Regions from separate parts of the Homo sapiens genome. Here all the other regions are linked to region 4. The links are contacts of gene promoters, found by promoter capture Hi-C in blood cells and fetal thymus (Javierre and others, 2016). All regions are on one chromosome and are shown on one strand. Each heading gives the region's core, a stretch centred on a gene start or on the middle of the fragment in contact. The rest is flanking DNA. Distances are from core to core; before and after follow the strand shown. Region 1 holds the start of KRIT1 (KRIT1 ankyrin repeat containing). Region 2 holds the start of BET1 (Bet1 golgi vesicular membrane trafficking protein). Region 3 holds the start of RBM48 (RNA binding motif protein 48). Region 4 holds the start of SDHAF3 (succinate dehydrogenase complex assembly factor 3).

Region 1 (5,395 bases), core at 1,875-4,374, 4.9 Mb after region 4:
CGGGCACCTGTAGTCCCAGCTACTTGGGAGGCTGACGCAGGAGAATCGTTTGACCCCAGGAGGCGGAGGTTGTACTGAGCTAAGATCACACCACTGCACTCCAGCCTTGGCAAGAGAATGAGACTCCATCTCAAAAAAAAAAAAAAAAAGAAAGAAAAGAAAAAAGAAAAAAAGTATCTGGAAAAGAAAGAGGCAGTCTGAGGTTATCTGAAAAATAAACTGAGAATCCAAAAATTACCATTCCCCCTAAGGAAGTCACTTTGAAAAGTAAATTAAAAACCTAAACATTTTTAGATCAATGTATAAAAACTCCCACAGACTGGTCTCTTTAATAATGACTTAGTCCACTCCCAAATCCTTTTTGGCAAATGTGTCAAATATTTGAAGGAAATATTTTAAAACTTAATCTAAATAAATGTCATATGCATCCTCAATGGGGGAAAAATTACCCAAAGCACTGAGGAATCTTTTCCAACTTCATTTCAAGGACATTCAGATTAACTTAATTCATAGTTCTTCCATCTACTTATATATGAAAATGAGCTCGCACTTTTATCTACAAGCAAGTTGTAAATACACATATTTCACTTTCACAAGTTTGAGTGCATACCCCAGAAAAGAAAGAGGAAAGAAAACCCACTCTTTGAGAAGTGGGCAGTGCCACAGGAGTACAAAAGAGTGGCTAACAAAACTTCCCTCCCATGTTTCAGGAGTCACCTACCTGTTAGAGCCCTTGTTTACAGCACAGTTGGCACAGTTTCAGACTCCTTACATATTGAAAACTCAAAATTCTCGGTGTAGTGGTCAAGGGAACAGTGAAATAGGAAAATATAGTTCTATCTTCCCCATCCTACCCCAAGGAAAAGAGAATCAACAACATTTTTTCTAAGACTTCTCCAAGATAGCGCCCATCACCTCACTATAGCACCCTACTCTTATTCAGAAACTGAACAATTTTACAGAAAGCAAAAGCCACACCCTTAATAATACACTCAACTCTGCACAGTGCTTGGCTTCTGTGCTAAGTACATTTCCAGAGACAGAGTTGGAGCTACATCTCCTGAGCCTACTTCAAATTAAAATCTGTGAACAGTGAGAAGTTACAAATCAGATAATAGCCCAAAATCAACTGCTGAAAGGAGGTTGGGGGGAAAAGTCATTAAACACATCCATCTTTCTTAATGAAATGACAATGTTTTTCAGCAACACAAAACACCAAAGCTACCAGTCTACACTACACAGTAGTTTGCAGAATGACAACCTGCAGTACACAGTAAAATTATTCTTAAATTATCGTTTGCTTCCTATGGTGCTCTGAAAAGTAGCAAATGCATAAAGTCATATAAGAGCTATTGTCCAATCACTGACAGCATTAAAATTATTTTTAAATCTAATTTCTGGAAAGTTCTGCAGGAGCAGTTTGAAAAGCAAATCAAATTCTAATGAGAAAAAACGCCTAGTTCAAAAATCTGAAAATATACTTTGAAGACATTCACAGTTTAAGCAGCAGGAGGGTCATAGGCACCAAGGTGTGTAACATCTGTGAGTGGCTGATACAAAAAAAGATTTCTCTGGAATTAATGATTGAAAATAATTATCAAATACAATCTAATATGATCTTTAAACGTCTGTCTCAAAAGCAACAAAGCAAAAGCTTGTAACAAAGCAAAACCTTCCAATACACAGATTTTTACACCTTACACATACCCACATACTTCACAAATTAAGAACTAGATGAAAATTAGAACACTAAAATTTAAAGGTATCTAAAATACACTATTTGAAACAGCAGACTCTTATCTTTACATTTATCTGTCAGATCTACCAGTAAAGCTCTTCTGAAATGGTCATTCCAATACAAGATTGTTCGATATGCCATTCCGTGTGAATAGAGCTTGGGAGACTAATTCTCAAAATCTCCTCAGGAGATGCTTTATTACAGCTCTAGTTTCAATTTCCTGCGACTCAAACAGCTACGTACAGAAAAACAGCTCATACATACGGAGAAGAATAAGAATACAGGGGAGCGCTCCATTCTTTTGTTTTGGTGGCAGAAGCTGCAAAAATAAAGGTTCACTGGAGCCATCTGCACCTATCCCCACCCATCACAGCCCTGCAGAGCACTTTTACCCATCCGCTTCTCAAGACTCTCTCTAGCCCCCGAGGTCGGCAGAACCCGTGGCTTTCCACGTCTCAAAGGATGGGGGTGGGGGGGAGGCTGCGAGGAAGGACACAGATCCTTTGAGGACAGAGGGACAAGGAGATGCATCCAGATGGGGAGGATGGGACGCGTCACGGAGACCCGGAGGCTTGCAAATTCGCTGGGAGAAAAGCCCTGTAGGGCAGAGAATGCTGCCTGTTCAGGGATGGGGACAGACAGAACAACAATGCTCCAAAACAGGCGACAGACACACTCCTAGTAGATCCGGGAGGGTGTGAAGTAGGTAGCTCTGAACTCGGAGCCACAAATGGGTAGAGGCAGCCTCAAACACATCTGTACCGCGAAGCTGAGACTTACGGTTACTTCTCTCGCTGAGGGTAAGGGTCGGTGGACCCAGCAACTCCGCAGTTCCGCCTCCGCCGCCCCTGCCTCTACAGCCGAGCTGGTGACCTCAGGTACCCAGCCCGCCCCACCCACCCGGACGGTTGCCCCTTCCTCGCCGGCCCGGGTGCACCCGCCAGGCGGAGGCTGATGTGGCCGAGGGTGCGCACTGGCGGCCCGCGGGAAGCGCTGCGTGAGCCGAAGGCGCCCGCGGCGAGGCTCAGACTGGGTGGGCGCCCCCCATCCCTCTCCGGCCGCTGCGCCGCCTCACTCGGGGGAGGGGAAGAGGGGGCGGTGGCTCTTGCCTCCGCCTCGCGGTCAAGCCCGGCTCATGTTCCAGCCTTGCGCGCTCGCAGCCCCGGCCGCCCTCTTCCCCTCCCCCGCCTCCGGCTCCGGCTCCGGCTCAGCCGCTGGCACCCCCACCGCCACCACCCTAGTCTCCTAGTCGCCTGCCACCAGCCCCTGAGAGACTGCAGGTCCAGTGAAAAGGAGCAGGAACGGCAGCAGCCCGGCCGCCGACCCGGAAGCTCTTTCACCGCCAACCGCGAGGCTGCAAAGGGTGTGAACCCGGAAGCGATTTCATAGCCACGGTAACGGCGGGGTGGAAAGCTAAGGCCTTTGAAGACCTGGGACCCCGTAGTTTCGGGAGAGGGTGAGGGGTGAATGGTGCTGAGGTGCGAGGAGAGGGAAGGACAGTAAAGAGCAGGTGGGCAGGAGGGTCTCCGACTCCAGAGACCTGAGCTTTTGGGGCGCGGGTGGGAGCGCGGGGGAACCCTCAAGACGGCTTTCTTTTGGCGACTGAGGGTTTTTCTGCCACAGGAAGCTGGGCCGGGCTGCTGTGCCTGGGAGGAGGGAAGGAGGAATGAGAAAGCGGTGACGGTCCCTGCCCCCCCTCGCCAGGTGACTGTCCCACCCATTTAGTTGAATGTAGCGGCCAGAGAGGCACTCGCGGCAGCCCGTACGGGTGGGACCTCTCGGTGTCCTTCGGGAAACAGGAGGAGCAAGTTCGACTCCAGCGAGGGAAAACGGAGGTGGGAGACTGAACCATCTCCACATCTAGTTGCCCCAGGCAAGGAGTTTATTTTTCACATGTAGTTACAGAGAAACCATAGCCACTTTTTGGGTGGAAACTCTTTGAGCAAAGAGGCTTACGTTTTTCCCCAGTAGTGGACGTTGACGGGTGGTGGCGCAGGAAAAAACCTCCCAGGCAGAGTGATTACGTATTTTTGTCATTGCAGGGAAAGGGATTCACAGCTTGTCATTCTAACTCACTTCTCCCCCTGTAACTCACTTCTCGCCTCTACACTTTTCTCCACCTTTTAAGGTTTTTGGCTTTCATCGCTTTTTCTACATGTTTTTAGCCTCACCAGAAGTCTTTCATCTCGGTGGTCCAACTCAGGATCTCAGCCTCATTATTTTCTTACCCTTCTGGAGTGCATATGTGCCTTTACAGTTTCTGTTTGCAAACGCTGTCTAGCATACTAAGAGGATGTTAGCAAACCTGTTCCATGGACACTAAATGGCAGTTGTACATCTCCCCTCATCAGTCATAGTGACAACCAGAAATGCCCTCCATATTTTCCAGTGATCCCAGGTAGGTGCCACCCCCCTAATTAAGGACCACTTCCACTGCTTTATTTATAAGATCTTATTACTTAGGGAGCATATTATCATTTGTGCCTAACATTTTCCAGAATGGAGTGAGCCATATAACAAAATGCCACGTTTCCTGTACTTATTCACTTGAACCCTCATCTCAGACTCAGTCTAAACATATTGCAAACTCTAGTTATACCTTTCTTGTATTTTAGTTCAAGCTACTCATTTTCTATCAGTTTGTCTGTGTTTCTCCCTTAGCAGTTTTACCTTCCTATGTTAGTTACTTTTGTTATTTTCCTGTTAAGCCTTTGTTTCCTTCTTTCATGTCACTGGAAGAATGTAGATTTTAAGTAGTCAAGTACGAATAGTTCTTGAAAATGAATTTTAAGAATATTTTGGGGATATGGTAAAAAAGTATTTGGTTTAAGAAAACAAAATACTGTTACTGTCATAGTTATGTCTTTTTAAAATCACATTTGTTTACCTTTTAAAAGTTCAGGCTTCTGTGCAGTATTAATTAAATATTCTAGAGAAGTGATGAGTATTGACAAAGTACTTTGCTAGTAAATGTTTTCTTAACATGAGTTGACCAAGACAGGAATTGATTTGCTTTAAATTGTCTTTAGAAAAGTAAGAGTTACTTGATTTTTCTTTTAGGTCCTTAATAGATAAAATGGTTTCTGTAATTGTGCCCATATATCATACAGTGTATTCACAATACAATGTCTTTCTTTTTGGGGCTTGCAGTCTTCAATGCGTCTGTCTCATAATTTGTAAACGTTTATTATCTTGAAGTCATTGTTAATCTGTGGTGAAAAGTAATTGCTAAATAGAAATTCTGAGAAGAAAAAGGCCTCATCCTTTTCACATGATGTAGGAAGGTCTGTTGCATGAGGTGGGTTTTAAGAATGATTTTATACAAAAAATTGAACTGAAAAAAATTTCATGAAGTATATAATGATAAAGAATGATAACGTCCTCAAAACCTTTCACACAATGAAATGTCTCTATCCTAATGTGTCACTGTATTTTTTTCTAGTGAAATATCTGTAGGGTTTTTTTGGATCTAAATCAATGGAAAGTTTTAGAATTTAAAATAAATTTGAAAAGTATTTAAATTATTTTATTTAAAATTTTTGTACAATAATTTTAATGGTTGTTTTAATCTTAGGCTAAAGTTTATGTAAAATGCCAAAAGCTACTGTATTTTAAAAGAATTTCTTCTTAGGGTAATTTTACAATCATAAGGCACTT
Region 2 (5,322 bases), core at 2,405-4,904, 3.1 Mb after region 4:
AATTGTATTAAAAATGATGGCATAAAAGGAAAAGAATAGATAAGGCAACCCCTTGCTCTCTTTCTTTTAAGTCCCTCCTAACTCATCAGTAGGCTGAAGGTAGAATGTTGGTAGAGTATGTGCCTGTCAAGACATGAAATAAAATCTGTTGACTTAGTTTTGATGCAGTGTTTTGACTGCTCTGCCATGGTAAGAATGAAATACAGATTCATGTGTGAGGTATCTATTTAGGCCATTCTTGCATTTTTATAAAGACGTACCTGAGACTGGGTAATTTATAAAGAAAAGAGGTTTAATTGACACATGTTTCTGCAGGCAGTACAGGAAGCATAGTGCCAGCATCTGCTCAGCTTCTGGTAATGCCTCAAGGAGCTCTTACTCATAGCAGAAGGTGAAGCGGGAGAGGGCAGGTTACTTGGTGAGAGTGGGACCCAGAGAGACAGGAGGTGGTGCCACATACTTTTAGACATCAGATCTCGTGTGAACTCACTCAAGGGGATGGTGCTAAGTTATTCATGTGGGATCTGCCTCCATGATCCAAACATTTCCCACCAGGACTTACTTCCAACACTGGGGATTACATTTCAACATGATGTTTAGTTGGGACAAATATCCAAACCATATCAAAGTACAAAATACCAAATGTGTAATTTTAGTGATTTCACGAGTAGCGTGCTCTTATGTTTGCATTTAAAACTGTCATTGCACAATATAAAGATCAAGGGTAAAATTAATGCTAATAATTTATTTTTTTCTTTACTCAGAAGAATATTAAATAGCAAATAAAAACACCATGACAAGTTGGTGTGGGGAGGGGAGGAACGATGGTAGGGAGATTACAGAAGAAAACAGAAGAAAGAGAAGTTTTGTATCTTAATACCTTTAACTGAACTTTTCCCCTGTTTTCTGAACTAGAGGCACAACATTTTCATTTTGCCCTGAGCCCCACAAATTATGTGTCTGGCTCTGCTGAGGACTTTAAGGTTGGAATTGTGTGCCTAATTTTTACAAACTATGGCTGAAAAGCTTGCCATCAGTGCTAGTAATATTCCCAAATTATGGAAAAGACAGATCAAATTGGTGACTTTTTGCAAACTCCTTGAAAATATTCTTCGCATTCTTAAAACTTTTAAGTAAAACTCATTCTTTCTCAAACATGAATAACCAAAATAATTTTTAAACACTCTATTTCTTCTTTAATGGCTTTGCTTTATTTTATCACAAGTATTACAACATTATTTTCCTTCTATTGGTCTTGAAAATACGCGGTATTTCTGCTGTCCTATGGGTTACACAGACTTTGATTGGCCAGCATAGTAACTCTAACAGCCATGTGTTTTCTGGGCTGAGTTGGGAACCTGACCATCATTTCAGTCTTCAGGGAAAATGTGCTTTAAATACCAAACAACAAACTTAGAAACAAACTTTGTCCCATAGCTTGTTTGTAAATCAAGAGCTTTTTGTTTCTAGTTTACATTTTGTGACAGTTCAAATATGATACCCGAGATACTGAATTTGCTTCATGATTGAAAAATGTGTTAATGTTTATTGAACCAGTTTTGAGAGCTTGGTATGCTCTTTTCCCTTGGATTGGACTTGAAATTTGGTCAGGAAGAGGTAGGACAAATGGGCAGGCAGGAAGCAGACAGATAGGAGAAAGAAAAGTTCCAATTTTGCACCTCGATTCAGACATTTCCTGCTTTTATTCTTGCTTTTGTAATTACTAGAAGGAATACTTAATATTATTTTAAGTAATTTTTAGTCCTTTATCTCCTAGAGACCTACAAACATTAGATGTTTTCTGTGAGACTATCCTGTGAGAATAGAGAAGAGGTTCTAAATGCTATTCATCTCTGTGAAATTTATTTGCTTTCAATCAGTAAGAAAAGTTAAGGATTTTAATTTAAAAAGGAAAAAGCACAACGAGAAAAGTGAAAATGATTCCCTCTGATCGCTAATGTCAACTATGGTCACATTTAATAATTCTTTTTCTGCACATTGAGTTCATTTTTCCTGCCTCTTCCTTTGAGTGCAAATTTTTTTCAGATGACATTATCCTAATTTGATACTAGCAACGTTAGCTAAAAACAATAATTGGATTTTTTAGGTAACAACTTCAATATGAACTAGCTTTGCCTTACTTCAGTTATATTCTTAGTACATTATATATGTTTTCCTTTTAACTACATTTCATTCTTATGTCTTCCTACCATGTAAAGGAAGCAGTATATTTTATGTAATCTAAATGATTAGTTCTAGTAAATATTACCATATTTTCAAAAATAACGATTTCTACATTTCCATCAGCAAGCCTTCTGTAAGGCAATTTTTAAACGTTTTAATTATAGAACATGCATTTTTTTAACCAAAGGACTGTCACAGATTTTAAGTTATAAAGGGATACCTAGCTATCATTTCTTTTATTGAATCTCCATCTTTTATTTGTAATAATTGTCCCTGATATTATGCTTATTTAATTTCATTGCTTTTAGAAAATGGCGGTTTTATTTTAATGATTTTTTTCTATCAAAACACTATTGGATAAAGCCTCCTTCCCAGGTTAATAACTCTTATTAAAAATTGTTTTCATGTGTTTTTTACAAAAGCAACTTAACGCAGAGACTTATGCCAGTATTATAGTCAATGTTAATAATGTCCTGGGAAACTATGAGGAAACGCTAAATGATCAAAGATCACATATTCGGAAATCTCTAGTGTGGAGACGATTCCACTGCCATATATACAGCAGCAACAACAAAACCGCAGACACCCAGTGAATTTTGATCACCTACTGTGTATCAGGTTTTTTTGTTTTCCCTTCAAAAACCACGATTTCATCGTATTCTCACGATAAATCCTCTGAGATAAAATGAAATTCTAGGATTAACCTCGATACCAGTAACACCTCCAACTCGCCAACAAGTTTTAAACCCCTAATTGGCACACTGCCTTGTGTAAGCAGTATTTCAATAAGCTTTGTGTAAGTTAAAAAAAAAAAAGTGGGAGAGCGTTTAGGGGTCCTTTGGTCCCCATAACAACTAAAAGTCTTGGTTCTTTCTAGAAGTACAACAGATGCAGTAACAGGGAACTAACTATTCAGTGCCTCTGACCAGATCCCGCAGCCTTTCCTAGTCTGCTCTCATCTGAGCAGGAGTCCTACTCAAAGGAACCTGGTTTTCTTTCCTTTACTGGATACTACAAGGCACAAATCGGTTACTTCTGTGGGTGTCGGATTACTTGTTTGTAAACTGAGAAACCTGGACAAAGTTTTCTCTAACTTTCCCTGAATCGTCTCTGGAGGTGAGAGGGAGTTCGAGGCTAAATCAGGAAAGATACCCCAACCATCCTCTTGTGGGTGGGGAGGAGCAGATCTGCTGGGTTAAACTTGGTGGTCAACAAACTGAAAGCAGCGACCCGCGGGCTGCGAGCGGAACAGCGGGAACGTTGGATCAGAGACCCAGAATCAGAGCCGCAGTCGAAGCCGCCCCCTTTTCCGGACGCCCCGTCCGCTCCTGGAACCGGGTTCACATCACGCCCTCAGCAACACGTTATGCGTTGGTGAACTACATTTCCCAGAATGCCTTTCAACCTTCTTCCCAGGGCTCCAATGAGCGCCGTGGTGACGCCATCATCCGGCGCGGTGTTTAGACTCCACTGATGTCGTGGCGCTTTAGGGGAAGAAGTTGGTGTTTCGCTGGGCCCTGGTACTGAAGACGCGGTCCGGGTCGCCCCTAGCTGTTTCCTACTCACCCAAAGCCCCGCACCCGCCTTTTCTCTCTCTCCTCTGGCAGGATGAGGCGTGCAGGCCTGGGTAAGAAGAGGGCTGAGGTTCGAAGTTCGGGGCCCTAGAACCGGGAGCGCTGGGGCGCGGGAGGAAATCGAACCTGTCTTATGTTCCTGGCATTTGGTCCAAAAAACAGGATGTCTAGAGGGGATCTTTGGGGTCCATGTCGAGTGGAAACACACCATTTGTCCCAGATCTTTGGAATTTCCTTAAGTTTGAGTCAGATTCAAGTTTGGATGGTAGGCTAGAGAAAGTAGTGGACTAGGGGTGGGTGTGTACAGGTGGCATCTCAGTGGTCGAGTGTTTTAGTGTTATTGACTGAGCGTGGTTATGGACGCTGCTATGTTTTCCAAAGCCCGACTCCGGTTTCTGTTTCCCTACTGGCCCTGGATCTTAGTTTCTTCAGAAGCGGAATTTGAAGAGTGGGTGGTTGCACCCAAAGCACGCTAGTAATGGTCGTTAATCTGGTAACAGTGAGTTACAAAGGTAAATGTATGTGTCATTATTGTTAAAGGTCCTGGAACTGGAACTTCTGGGTCAAAGGCGATTTCTTAATCTGAACCTTGTGCCACGGTTAAGGCAGTAGAACGTGGTTAAGGTTTGGCGACTTAACATTTGATCTTTACCTTTGGGGTTAGGAAACTGGCTCATCAGCAAGAATAAGTTAGACACAAGGAATTTTAATGGACCCTTATAGTAACGCACAGCTACTAGAACGGCATTTTCTGGTTCTGAAGCTTTCTCTTAGGACACGATTTTTTTTTTAAAGAAGACCCCGCTAAATTAGAGTGCAGTATACTTCAGAAAATAAATGAAACATTTGAAAAAAGATATTACCTTTCTCAGTCATTATAAGATTGAAAAAAGAAAAAAAAAATCCCCAAAGTGTCAGATATTTAAAGTCAGTGAAAGTTGCCAATAACCGTAGACTTGTTTATTGATCAATAAATTGTAGTATGAGAAAGTTTTTTGTTTTTTTAATGAAGTTTTTATGAATACTTAGATCATAGAAAATGGGGCCAGGTAAATTGAAGAGAAAAAAAAAAGAAATAATTTTGAGCAAGTTTAGCTTTATATGTCTAAATGTTTTTCTTGTTCATCATCCTTAATACCAAAAAAGATTTATTGTGTGCTTGAGTAAGCTCTAGGTATACAGTTGTTTGTTGCCCTGTTTGTGATCCCCAAAGCTTCCAGTCTAGGTGGGGAGTAGGAATATGTGCAAAGATAAATTGTAGTACAAAGTGTCGCTATACATCCAAATACCAGATAAGTTCTACATATAAGGGATGGTCTCAGAGATTTCAGAGATAGATCACTGTGTACTTTGTGGGGAAGATCTTTGTGTATTTGGTGGAGACATAGGAATTTGAAGTAGACCTTGAATAATGGAGAGTGGGGGAAGTGAGTTCCAGATAGGAGGAACTCAAAAGAAGTAAGGGATTATGATTAAGCCAGTTTGGGTGAAGTAGGGGATTCGGGATCACACTGTGGAGATCTTTGCATGCGAGGCCAAAGAGTTTGGATTTCATCAGTAGGCC
Region 3 (5,421 bases), core at 2,224-4,723, 4.6 Mb after region 4:
ATTAAGATGCTCTGCTTGTGGACAGTATTCATCCCATTGATCGAGTATGTACTCGTAGAGCCTCCCCTTTCCTTCCCTTTGAGCCTCTTTGTTCCCTAGTCTTTAAACAACTAAGGACCCAGCTGGTTGGCCTGAAGTATGTAAACTGTGGTCATAAAATGGAGCTTTTCTCTGTGGCCCTGAAGAGTTGGTTCATACCCAATTAAGCTTTTTCAGCACTATGTATTTCTGTGATGGGATTCATGCCTTAAAAATCAGATGAAAGATACTATAATCATAAAACATTCAATAACTGAGGAACTATTAAATATATAACAATGAGAAAATGAGAAGAATGTTATTCAGTCAATAAATACTTACTAAACATCTATGACTGGCCAGGTACTACAATAAATTTAACTACTTCTATATCCAGGGATAATGATAAATACTTGTTGAGATTTCACCATATGCCAGGCAATGTCATAAGCGCTTCACTTGAATTAACACCTAAAAACAACACTGTAATGAAACTGAAGCACTGGGACATTATGTAACTTAGCCATGCTCATAGTCTGGTTTGAGGAGCAAGGATTCAAATCCAGATGTCTTACTTCAGAGCCTACCAGACTACGTACTATAGAAAACAGAAAAGCTCTAGAAAATGTTTCCCTAACCATGGGAGCTGGCAGGTTGGTTAAGAAAGTGAAATTACATATAACAGCAGCCTGAGAAAACCACACAAGACCCAGTAAAATCAAGTGCTTTTGTGGTAGACTATGAGTTCTACTGATAGCACAAGAAAGAAAATATGAATTGTAATAGCCAGAGAAGGATGGGTCTCAGAGCAGATTAGTGAGGAGAACAGAGATCAATATAAAAATAGATAAGGCACTGCATACTTCAGCCTTTTTGGAGCAGAGGATTATGTCACATAGAAGGCTGGAAAAAACTGAGTCAGTTTGCAGAAAGGAGTAACAGTAGAAACCACAATAGCTAATGTTTACTGTATTCTGACCAGGATACACCTTTATATGGATTATCTCATTTCATCCTCATACAACCCCAAGAAGTAGATAGGTCCCTTTACCATACAGATTTTATGGAAGAGGAAAAACTTAAACAGGTTAAATAACTTGCCCAAGATCATGAAGCTAGTAAGCAGTGGAAATGGAAAACTTACTCCAAACCCAACTTTTTTTTTCTTTTGAGACAGAGTCTCACTCCATCACCCAGGATGGAGTGTAGTGGCCCATAAGACTCACTGCAACCTCCACCTCCTGGGCTCAACTGATTCTCCTACCTCGGCCTCCCAAGTAGCTGGAACTACAGGAATGCACCAACACACCCAGCTTGATTTTTGTATTTTTACAAAATACAAAATACTGGCCATGTTGGCCAGTCTGGTCTCGAACTCCTGGGCTCAAGCAATCTGCCTACCTTGGCCTTCCAAAGTGCTGGGATCAAATCCAACTTTTTCTTTTTTTTTTTTTGAGACAGTCTCACTCTTGCCCAGGCTGGAGTGCAATGGCATGATCTTGGCTCACTGCAACCTCCACTTTCTGGGTTCAAGTGATACTTGTGCCTCAGCCTCCCCAGGAGCTGGGATTAAAGGTTTGCACCAACACAGCCGGCTAATTTTTGTATTTAGTAGAGTGAGGGTTTCACCATGTTGGCCAGACTGGTCTTGAACTCCTGACCTCAGGTGATCCACCTACCTCGACCTCCCAAAGTGCTGGGATTACAGGTGTGAGCCACGTGCCTGGCGTCAAACCAGAATTTTTTTTTTTTTTTGAGACAGAGCCTTGCTCTGTCATCTAGGCTGGAGGGCAGTGGCATGATCTCTGCTCACTGCAATCTCCACCTCCCAGGTTCAAGCAATTCCCATGCCTCAGCCACCTGAGTAGCTGGGACTACAGGTCCGCACCACCACACCCGGCTAATTTTTGTATTTTTAGTAGAGGAGGGGTTTCCATCATGTTGGCCAGGCTTGTCTTGAACCCCTGACCTCAAGTGATCTGCCTGCCTCGGTCTCCCAAAGTGCTGGGATTACAGGCGTGAGTCACCACGCCCAGGCTTCAAACCCAAATTTTTTTTTTTTTTTTTTTTTTGAGGCAGAGCTTCCCTCTTGTTGCCCTGTCTGGAGTGCAATGGCGCAATCTCGGCTCACTGCAACCTCTGCCTCCCGGTTTCAAGCGATTCTCCTGCCTCAGCCTCCCGAGTAGCTGGGATTACAGGCCTGCGCCACTAGACCCAGCTAATTTTGTATTTTTAGTAGAGAGGGGGGTTTCACCATGTTGGCCAGGCTGGTCTCAAACTCCTGACCTCGTGATCCGCCCACCTCGGTCTCCCAGAGTGCTGGGATTGCAGGCGTGAGCCACCGTGCCTGGCCAAACCCAACTTCTACTCTACCAAGCTACAGGACATTAAATTGTTAAGCATGGGAATGATGTGATGGATACAGTGTTTCAGTAAAGTTAACTTTTAAAAAGGCTGGAGGAAGATATGCTAGATTACGTTTTGGGGTAATTCAGTTATGAATGAGGGAAACTTGGGGCCAAAATGACAGAAATATGAATGGAAGAAATGAGGAAATGAGTCATTTCTTAACTTGCACATTACCTTGCACTTTGTAAGTTCATAAATTTAATAAGATAAACTTCAGTAAAGTCTTCTGCTGGGTATTCATCTAGAGCATTGTACTGTTCAATTGCACCATATAAAGCGAATCGCTCAACTAATTCCTTCATGACTCCCACAGCAGGAACTCCTTGTATTAATAAGTACTGAGATTCCAAATTGATTGTATATACCTGAAAGAAATGCAGAGTTATTAAACGTATTTCGCAAATAAGCCTAGGACGAATCTGCCTCTATTTTTTTTTAAAGAGAACTTTGAAAACAAGAAATAATCTGTTCAACCCAGTCAGCAAAAGAACACAAAATGAAATTTCTGCCATTCCTTCTGCATAAAGAATAACAGTCCATGTGAGAGGCTACCTAAGGCATATAACAGACTACCTTCAGTCGACATTTTTTTCCAGAAATTGAGTCGGTAGAAGTCACTGGGAACAATCACTCAACGAATATTCACTGAGTGCTTACCTGTGCCAAGTAGTACTGTAAACACAGAAGATCCAATGACTAAAACCAAGGCCTATTCTCGTGGAGTTGATGTTCTAATACTTGACCAAAGGCGTCGTGAGAATCTTTGGTAACTGACCGAGGGTTCTTCACGCCAGCTCTAACGAGAGACAGATCTGACGGAAGCCTTGTCGTGCCTTTATTTCCGTAGGCTGGTCATATGGCGCTAGCACTCACATAAAGCTACCGAGGAGAGCGAATGAAACCAAAATCACTTTACCTTCACAGCACGAGGCCGTCGTCCCTCTCGATATTTGGCCCGTGTGTCGCATACCGCCCTCTGGACGTGGTGATCAAATAAACTCCCTAGCTCCCCGCCGCTCGACGCCATCTTGCCTACTTTGATCCTCGCAGGGAGGACAACATCCGCCCTACTGAGCTCCCTTTTATCCAATAAGAGAGCGGGATGAGTTAAGGAGTGCCAGGATTGGCTGGAGAATCGACAGCGTCGGCCATCGTTTCCTGCGTGCGAAGATTTGATGAACGAGGTGCCGCCCCCGAGCGGCTCGGCGGAGAGGCGCGGTGGGTGACAGAAGCTTTCTTGTCCCACCCACTACAGGCTTACGGCAGGATGCGCAGCGGGGAGAGGGGGCGGGGCCGCAGGGGGCGGGGCCGATCGATCTCCTCCGGCTCCGACGTCCTCGGCCTGCCGGGTCCCGGGTCCTTTGCGGCGCTAGGGTGGGCGAACCCAGAGCGACGCTCCGGGACGATGTGGGGCAGCGATCGCCTGGCGGGTGCTGGGGGAGGCGGGGCGGCAGTGACTGTGGCCTTCACCAACGCTCGCGACTGCTTCCTCCACCTGCCGCGGCGTCTCGTGGCCCAGCTGCATCTGCTGCAGGTAACCTGCCGGCCCCGAGCCACCTGATCTTCAGCCTGGGGTCGGACGAGGCCGAAGCCTCTCAGGGACGCGGCGGGACACCGGCTGCCACCCGGGCGCCGCCGAAGCGCGCAGAGATCAGGGTCCCTCGACGGCAGGGCCCTTCTGGGTAGTCTCTGGATCCCACAAGTCCAGTGCAGCCCTGGGCTCGTCTTATCCCAGGTCTTTTCACTTGGTGAAACTGAACCTAGAAACGTCCTAATATTCTACCACTGTTTTTATAAATATTCCTTATTCCAGGCTGGAAAAGCTCCTGAGAAGTGGTTTGTTTTTATTATTTTAAAAGGTGTTTTCCTTGCCAGCCATTTCCAGTTAACCTGCGCTGCTGCCGTCCGGGCCGCGAGAGCGGGACGCAGAGTTGTTGGCGGAGCCCCTGTCGGTTCCCGGGGACTAAGCACCGCGTCCCATGAGCGGGAAAGGTTAATACAATGATGGTTCTGCCCTGCGTCGCTGACGCGGAACACAGCTGTAGTGTGTTAGGAACACATAACGTAGTTAAGATCACTTGAAGCTCTGCGATCAGTCGCCCTTCTGGACGTTGTGGTTAGGATGTTTCACAGTTCTAACCACTGGTGGAGATACAGCGTCCATATTTTCATAATTAAAAATAGAGGCACATGGTCTCACGAGTTTGAGTGTACTTATGGGGGCAAAAGGACGGCGTATTTGAAATCCTCATAAATCCTGGATGCATGGTACCCACCAGTGGCTAATCTATGCAATGAATAGAGTTTGCAATAATTTCAAGCATCCCTTCTTTCCACTTGAGTTACTTCCCCATACCTAGGGGAAGATATTTTTGGTCCACTGAAAACATGAGTTCAGCAGAATCCTCCTATCATCGTCGTTATTATTTTTTACCACTAAGTAGACAATCTTTTGGTTTTTGATGGGCTTTATGGCTAGAGACAAATCAGTCACTGTCACCAAGTTCCAGGTAGAAGTTGGTTCAGTGCTCTGTCAGCTTCGATGGGATTTTTCAACATGTTTTCAAATCTGCACTTAATAGTAGGAATGCTTTCTTACAGTAACTCTAATTTGATCCTAAGATGTAGTTGTTACCTTACATTCATCACTGTTTAAGAATTTAGTGGTCTTGATCTTTGTTTTAAATTTTGAGCCTTCGGGAAGTACTTATAAGAATTAATTCATGCATATCTTTTTGAAATGTAAATGTCTTTAGCCCTGGAACAAATTGCTGTTTCTGTTCAGCCCATATTAGCAGAATAGGTCAACTTTACTTTCTAATTATCAATGTAATAAGTTTATTACTTTATAGATTCCATAAATCTATACATTTATTCCTCGATGAATTATATAAATTTATAGAATTTATGTTTTATAGAAAATTTGGAAAGCATGGAAAATTATTAACAAGAAAATAAGTTACCCATAATCCCAGAACTTAGAGGTGACTAATG
Region 4 (5,435 bases), core at 2,129-4,628:
CAGACACAGAACAGGTACTTAAGAAAAACAACAGGAACTAGGCAAGAGACAACTCAGAAAAATACATGGGACAGAAAAAGAAAAATAAATGAAGTCTCTTCAGGTAGCTCCTGAGAGCACACTCTTCTGTGCTCTTTGTCTCATATTCTCTCACCAACATGTTTTATCTATTTAATCTTCAATGCTTATTCTGATTTCCTAGAAAATAAGTGGTAGGCACAGAGAGAAAAATAGAAAGCCTTAAACAACTATTCCTCAAAAATGAGCACAGTCAGAACTTTTAAAATGCCGTAGTAAGACCCCCGATCTATGGAGTCTCAATTTCACTTCTAATAGTTACCTCCTAAGAGTTGAGATTACAATGCACATTTTACAAACCAGTTATCGTACATTCTCCCTTCATAGATTCCCAAAAACTCTTCCTGAACTTAAATTTTTTCTCTTATGGTGAGAAATTACATAAATTCACTATTTACTCTGTAAACATGCTTTTACATTTCTATACTTAAAATACTTTCCTTCCACGTTGCCCCACTTGGTCCCTGAACAAAAACTTCCCCCAGCTGAATTCTCTCTACTATTATATTGCCAGTTTTCCAGGATCACAAATGAAGAGAATTAGAGAACTCTCTTCCAAATATGGGGCCTCTAGTGTTCTTGATCCCTTTCTTTTCTCCAGTGGCAACTATACCCAACGTTGCCCCTGATGTAAAACAAATTCAGAATCCATTCAAGTCCATAATTAAGTTTAGATGTGTGTGAGGGACTGGGATCGTGTAGACCAGACTCTACATATTAAGTTAGAAGTCCACAACAGTTACTCTTAGTTTGATGTAAACGTAACCATTAAGTTATATTCAAACAACAGGTGCCAAGTTTGTAATGAGCACTAACTGAAAAATAAAGGCATAAAAATCCATGTCATGTCTAGCAGTATCTAGTATAACATAATCATAAATTAGATATTTTGAAGAACAGGTGGGGGGGAAAAAGACTTGGAAGTCTTAAGTATATTACTCTCTGGTGATAAAACTTCTCTAGCCAGGTTTTTCTCCCCTCCAATCATTAGCATCTTCTCTAGCCCTACTCTTTCAAAAAGACCAGTTCTTCAAGTATCTTTCCTGGTAGGATCCAACCTACCACGTCTAACTCCCAGGCTTAGATTAAGCTGCCTTGTAACTGTGATAATTATGTTATACAAAGAGATTACTACGTTTAAATTTATCTTTACCCAGCTGCCAATTCATTAATTCCAGTAGATCAACAATGGTCGGGGAAGACAGGAAAACTGTTCTCTACAGACGCGTGTCAACTAATAAATTCAGAAGGAATGAGGGAAACAAAAGAGCCACCATTGGAACACAATGGCAAAATCCATCAATGAATGCTAAGACTAGTAATCATCTGAAAGCCTGAGAGTACCTACCCCCAAATATGTATTAATTTCAAAAGAGAAAATAGTAAGTTTACAGTAGAGACACCACGTGGATTATTACTTTAACCAAGTGATCACAGTTATCATCACCAGTAAGAAGTCATGTTAGTATCATGTGCCCTCTGACATTAAGTGTTGAGGCGAACACTTTGCCCATGTGGTATTCTTACTGAGATGTTATGAAATGCATAACATCAATTTAACCATGAGAAAACATCAGACAAACTCAAATTGAGATACATTCCACAAAGTAACAGACTAGTACTTTTCAAAAAAGTATCAAGGTAATGAAAGATAGGAAGACGGAGCAACTGTCACAGAATGGAGATTAAGGAAAAAGAATAACTAAATGCATTGTAGAATCCCCATTGGATCCTGGAACAGAATAAGGACATTAGTGAAAGGGCTGGCAAATTGTAAATAAAGTCTGTAGTTAACAGCATTGTAGCAATGTTAATTTCTTGTTTTTGATCACTGTACCCTGATTATGTAAGATGCTAACACAGGGGGAAACAGGATGTAGGGAACTCTCTACTGTCTTTCTAACTCTTCTGTATGTCTAAAATTATTCCAAGTTTTAAAAAGCTCAATCCCAGTTACCAAGCCTACTAGGTCAACTAACACATTTTTTATTTATGCAGTTCTTTTTTATACCCTCTCTCTCTCCTACAACCTATTATCAATTTTTTCTGAGTTGCTACTCTTTCCTACTTTTTCCCAAAGAGGCTTCCATGTGCTTACATTTTAAGACTTCTTAAAATAACCTTATTTCCTCCCAACAGAGAGCTACTCTCCTTCCTGTACGGCCACAAAATGACCTACCATAAAAGATGTAAAATACTTTAATACAGTATCTTATAGCTTCATAACAATTAGCAATACACAAGTGCTTGTAAATACATTTACATACGTAAATTTTGAGATGCATAAACACTTATTATTTTATAGATGAGAAAATAAGACTAGAAAAATTATGTGATCTGACACTTAAAATGTCAGAGACTGAATCTGAATCCAGTTCTTCAGGCTCCAAAACCAAATTACCTTATTAAAATAAAGTGCTCTGTGTCTGAAAAGCTTCAACTTCCCTGCTTCAGGCAAGCGAATTACATCAAATACACCATGATTTTCAAGAAAGTTCTAAATTTCCCGATTGTTCTAAATGTCGCTCTTAAAAGCTTCAATAATTATACAAAAAAGAATTCTGGAAGTCAGTGCAAAGTTTGTGTTCACCCTAACCATTCTTTTGATTTTTTTTTACAAAGCCGACTTCAGTCATCTCCCCTTCAACTATTTAGGCCGAAGAACCGCTTACCTCTATTTTCATATCAGCTCCAACTCATGCTTTCAAATATCTGAGCTGTCATTCCAATCTCTAATTCCATTCATTTATTTATATTTGCAAATGAAAACTAGGGGCAATCCTGCAGGGCCCCGAGCCCCACGAAATACTCTGAATATCTTTTTTCCTTTACTCAAAAAAAAAAAAAAAAAGTCAAACGACTTATTGCTAATGCATGTGTCTGTTTAATATTTAGCGCAATGGTGCAGGGCGAAGTAACAATGACTTGAGACCGGAGGAAACAACTTTCGCCTGACTTAACTGCCACCAGCATTTTTCTCCTTCACAGTTTGTAATCTCCAACCTTTTGTAATCTTTTTCATGTTACCTGATTTCTGTATCAGCCAAGTGAGAAAATTATTTAAACCCAACCAAAAGCGCTGAGATTAAATAATAAATTACGGAAATAAGCCTTTAAATTTGAAAACTAATAAGAGAACCATTAATTTATTAATGGGCGCTTACTAGGTGCAAAGGCACTTAAAAGGACAAAAAGCTCCTGAGGTTTTTGAGCACTTAACGACGACTTGCTCATTTTTGTGACCTCCTACCCTCACCCTTTGAGCACCTGGCATCTGCAGGAGCTCAAAAGTTGAACTGAATTGGGGACGCTGAAGTAACAGGATCTGCTCTAGTGAGAAACCCGTGGGAGAAACTTTGGAAAGTGTTACCTGAACAGCATTACGCTATTTCAAACAGAACAGGTTGCTGCTCTGTTTAACCCCGCATGGGGGACTGGAACTAGAAACCTGGACACCGAGGAACCCCAAAGGTCTTGGGCAAAGAGAAGGGAGCGTCACTTGCCTCCCATTCTTGCAAGAAACGCTGTGCCTCGTCAGAACCAACGGTCTTATGTCTCCTAAATTCGTCTTTCACGTACTGGTCGCCCAGGGATTTGAGGTCCGGGGGCAGAACACGGTGCAGCTGCAAGACGCGCTTGTACAATGCCCGGACTCGAGAAACGTGCCGCCCCGGCATAGCGCCCCACGCCGACCGCCGACTGCGCCTGCGCAGAGGGACGGCGCGTTCCCGCACTTCTGCGAACTTGCGTATTAGTGAACCGGAAGGCAGACGAAAGAGGGCGCGCGACCTCTATCCGGTTTGGTCCCTTGCACAATCAGGTCCTCCCGGAAACCCAAGCTCCGCTGCGGGCGGAAAACGGGTCGGTCCTTCTCTAGGAGGGGCGTGGCCCTCGTGGAGTCGCGCCTGCGCCTCGTCGTGGCTTCTTCTGGCCTGCGTCCTGACGACACAGGCCTTGAAAGAGAGAGGTCTGTGGTGGGCCGTTGTCATTTCTCAGTCCCACTCCACTGTCTTTTTCATTCAACTTCGTTTCTGTCCTCCTACCAAAGGCCTGAGAAAAGCTTCGTTAAGATCGGGCTCCTCCGGGATTCCTTCCATGGTTCCCAACCCATTTGAGGCATTTAGAGTATTACTGCACCCTGCTTTAGGGATCAGAGTGAGATTAATCTCGCCATCCACTAGCTCACCAACCCACGCTCTTTGCACAGCGCTGTTCTCCCAATTTATACTCTGGGCATGGGCTCTTCCTTGCAAACAACCCAAGTGAGCCCAGAGCTGGCGGACTCCTTAGCCAAAGTCAAGTTGGCTGCTGAAGGATCCTTGGGAAGAGTTTTAAACGTATTGTTTCCAGGACCACGACCCTGGAGATTCTGGTTAAATAGTCTAGGATAATAAGAACGAGGAATCTAGAAATTTACAAAGCTCTATCTTTTGCGAAGGTAATACTGAGAGTAGAACTGGTTTCCAAAGCTGGCAGCTCCTTGTGTTGTCCTTTCCTGTCACACGTTTGGTTCTTCAGCAAATCCTGATGGCGTCACCAACAAAAATGCAGAAATCAACCATTTCGCCCCATGTACTCTACCACAATCTCTCTCCACTGGATATTGTGTTAGCTTCCATATCTGTGTTCAGCTTCTGGTCATGACCAACTTTGGTCATGCTCCAACATAATTTAAATTAAATTTGGCCTAAAATTTCCTCCCTACTCTGAGTTGCTATGTAGGGAACTGCAACCTAACTTAGTATGTAAATTAACTGCAACTGAGAGTATATTCTTGTGACAAGTAGCTGAGCTTCAGCCAATCACAGGCTGCCAACTGATCAGACTATGTGCATATAAGGCAAATACGTCATAATGTCCTGCCCAAATAAGACTAGCCCAACTGTAAGCAATCAAGCTGTTTCTGTGGGGCACTTCCTTTTTCTGTCTATAAATACTGCCTGCCCACAGTGCTGGGTAGAGCTCTCTGAACCTCTCCCTGTTAAGTGCTGCTGCCTGATGAATGCCTCATAAATCGTGTGTGTGTGTGCACGTGCGCTCGTGCAAATAAACTTTATTAGATTTAACTTGTTTAAAGTTTTTCTTTTAACAATCTAAACTGTAAATCGGATCATTTCACTCCTCTGCTCAACAAAAGCCTCCAGGGATTTTCATCAGAGTAAAGCCCAGTCTCTAGCCCTTAAAGGTTTAAATTTTCTCCTATTGCTTTCTCCCTAGTTAGCCAGTTGCAGCCACACTGGCCTCCTAGCTCTTAGTTCATATTTTAAAAAGCCAGGTACACTCCCAACTGAGGCCTTGGCACTTGCTGTCCCGTCTACTTGGAGTGCTTTGCCAAATGTATCTTCCTGGCTAACACT

Evidence for each region. The method cuts DNA at HindIII sites, captures the fragments that hold promoters and counts their contacts. A CHiCAGO score of 5 or more calls a contact.
Region 1: a contact is called between the fragment with the promoter of KRIT1 here and a fragment that was not itself captured in region 4, in 1 of 17 cell types (total CD8 T cells). The highest score is 5.2, in total CD8 T cells.
Region 2: a contact is called between the fragment with the promoter of BET1 here and a fragment that was not itself captured in region 4, in 5 of 17 cell types (naive CD4 T cells, total CD8 T cells, total CD4 T cells and 2 more). The highest score is 12.0, in naive CD4 T cells.
Region 3: a contact is called between the fragment with the promoter of RBM48 here and a fragment that was not itself captured in region 4, in 1 of 17 cell types (naive B cells). The highest score is 7.8, in naive B cells.

The regions. Positions count from the first base shown.
Region 1 is chr7:92,243,643-92,249,037 of GRCh38, reverse strand. KRIT1 (KRIT1 ankyrin repeat containing) reads left to right here and starts at 3,124. Exons shown (of 19, transcript NM_194454.3): 1 at 3,124-3,248; 2 at 3,867-4,136; 3 at 4,889-5,036. It overlaps ANKIB1 (ankyrin repeat and IBR domain containing 1), which reads right to left and starts at 3,064. Exons shown (of 20, transcript NM_019004.2): 1 at 2,519-3,064. RefSeq lists a silencer at 2,629-3,018 and an enhancer at 2,949-3,243. The HindIII fragment of the contact is 4,029 bases long and covers 1,657-5,395 here.
Region 2 is chr7:94,002,687-94,008,008 of GRCh38, reverse strand. BET1 (Bet1 golgi vesicular membrane trafficking protein) reads left to right here and starts at 3,654. Exons shown (of 4, transcript NM_005868.6): 1 at 3,654-3,811. The coding sequence starts at 3,793. RefSeq lists enhancers at 3,088-3,717, 3,728-3,777, 3,232-3,837, 3,838-4,444. The HindIII fragment of the contact is 1,547 bases long and covers 2,977-4,523 here.
Region 3 is chr7:92,526,847-92,532,267 of GRCh38, reverse strand. RBM48 (RNA binding motif protein 48) reads right to left here and starts at 3,473. Exons shown (of 5, transcript NM_032120.4): 1 at 3,344-3,473; 2 at 2,602-2,792. The coding sequence starts at 3,454. It overlaps PEX1 (peroxisomal biogenesis factor 1), which reads left to right and starts at 3,748. Exons shown (of 24, transcript NM_000466.3): 1 at 3,748-3,961. The coding sequence starts at 3,833. RefSeq lists enhancers at 3,170-3,549, 4,150-4,329 and a silencer at 3,690-3,919. The HindIII fragment of the contact is 3,452 bases long and covers 210-3,661 here.
Region 4 is chr7:97,116,044-97,121,478 of GRCh38, reverse strand. It overlaps SDHAF3 (succinate dehydrogenase complex assembly factor 3), which reads right to left and starts at 3,781. Exons shown (of 2, transcript NM_020186.3): 1 at 3,582-3,781. The coding sequence starts at 3,755. RefSeq lists enhancers at 3,604-3,693, 4,044-4,123. The HindIII fragment of the contact is 1,525 bases long and covers 2,616-4,140 here.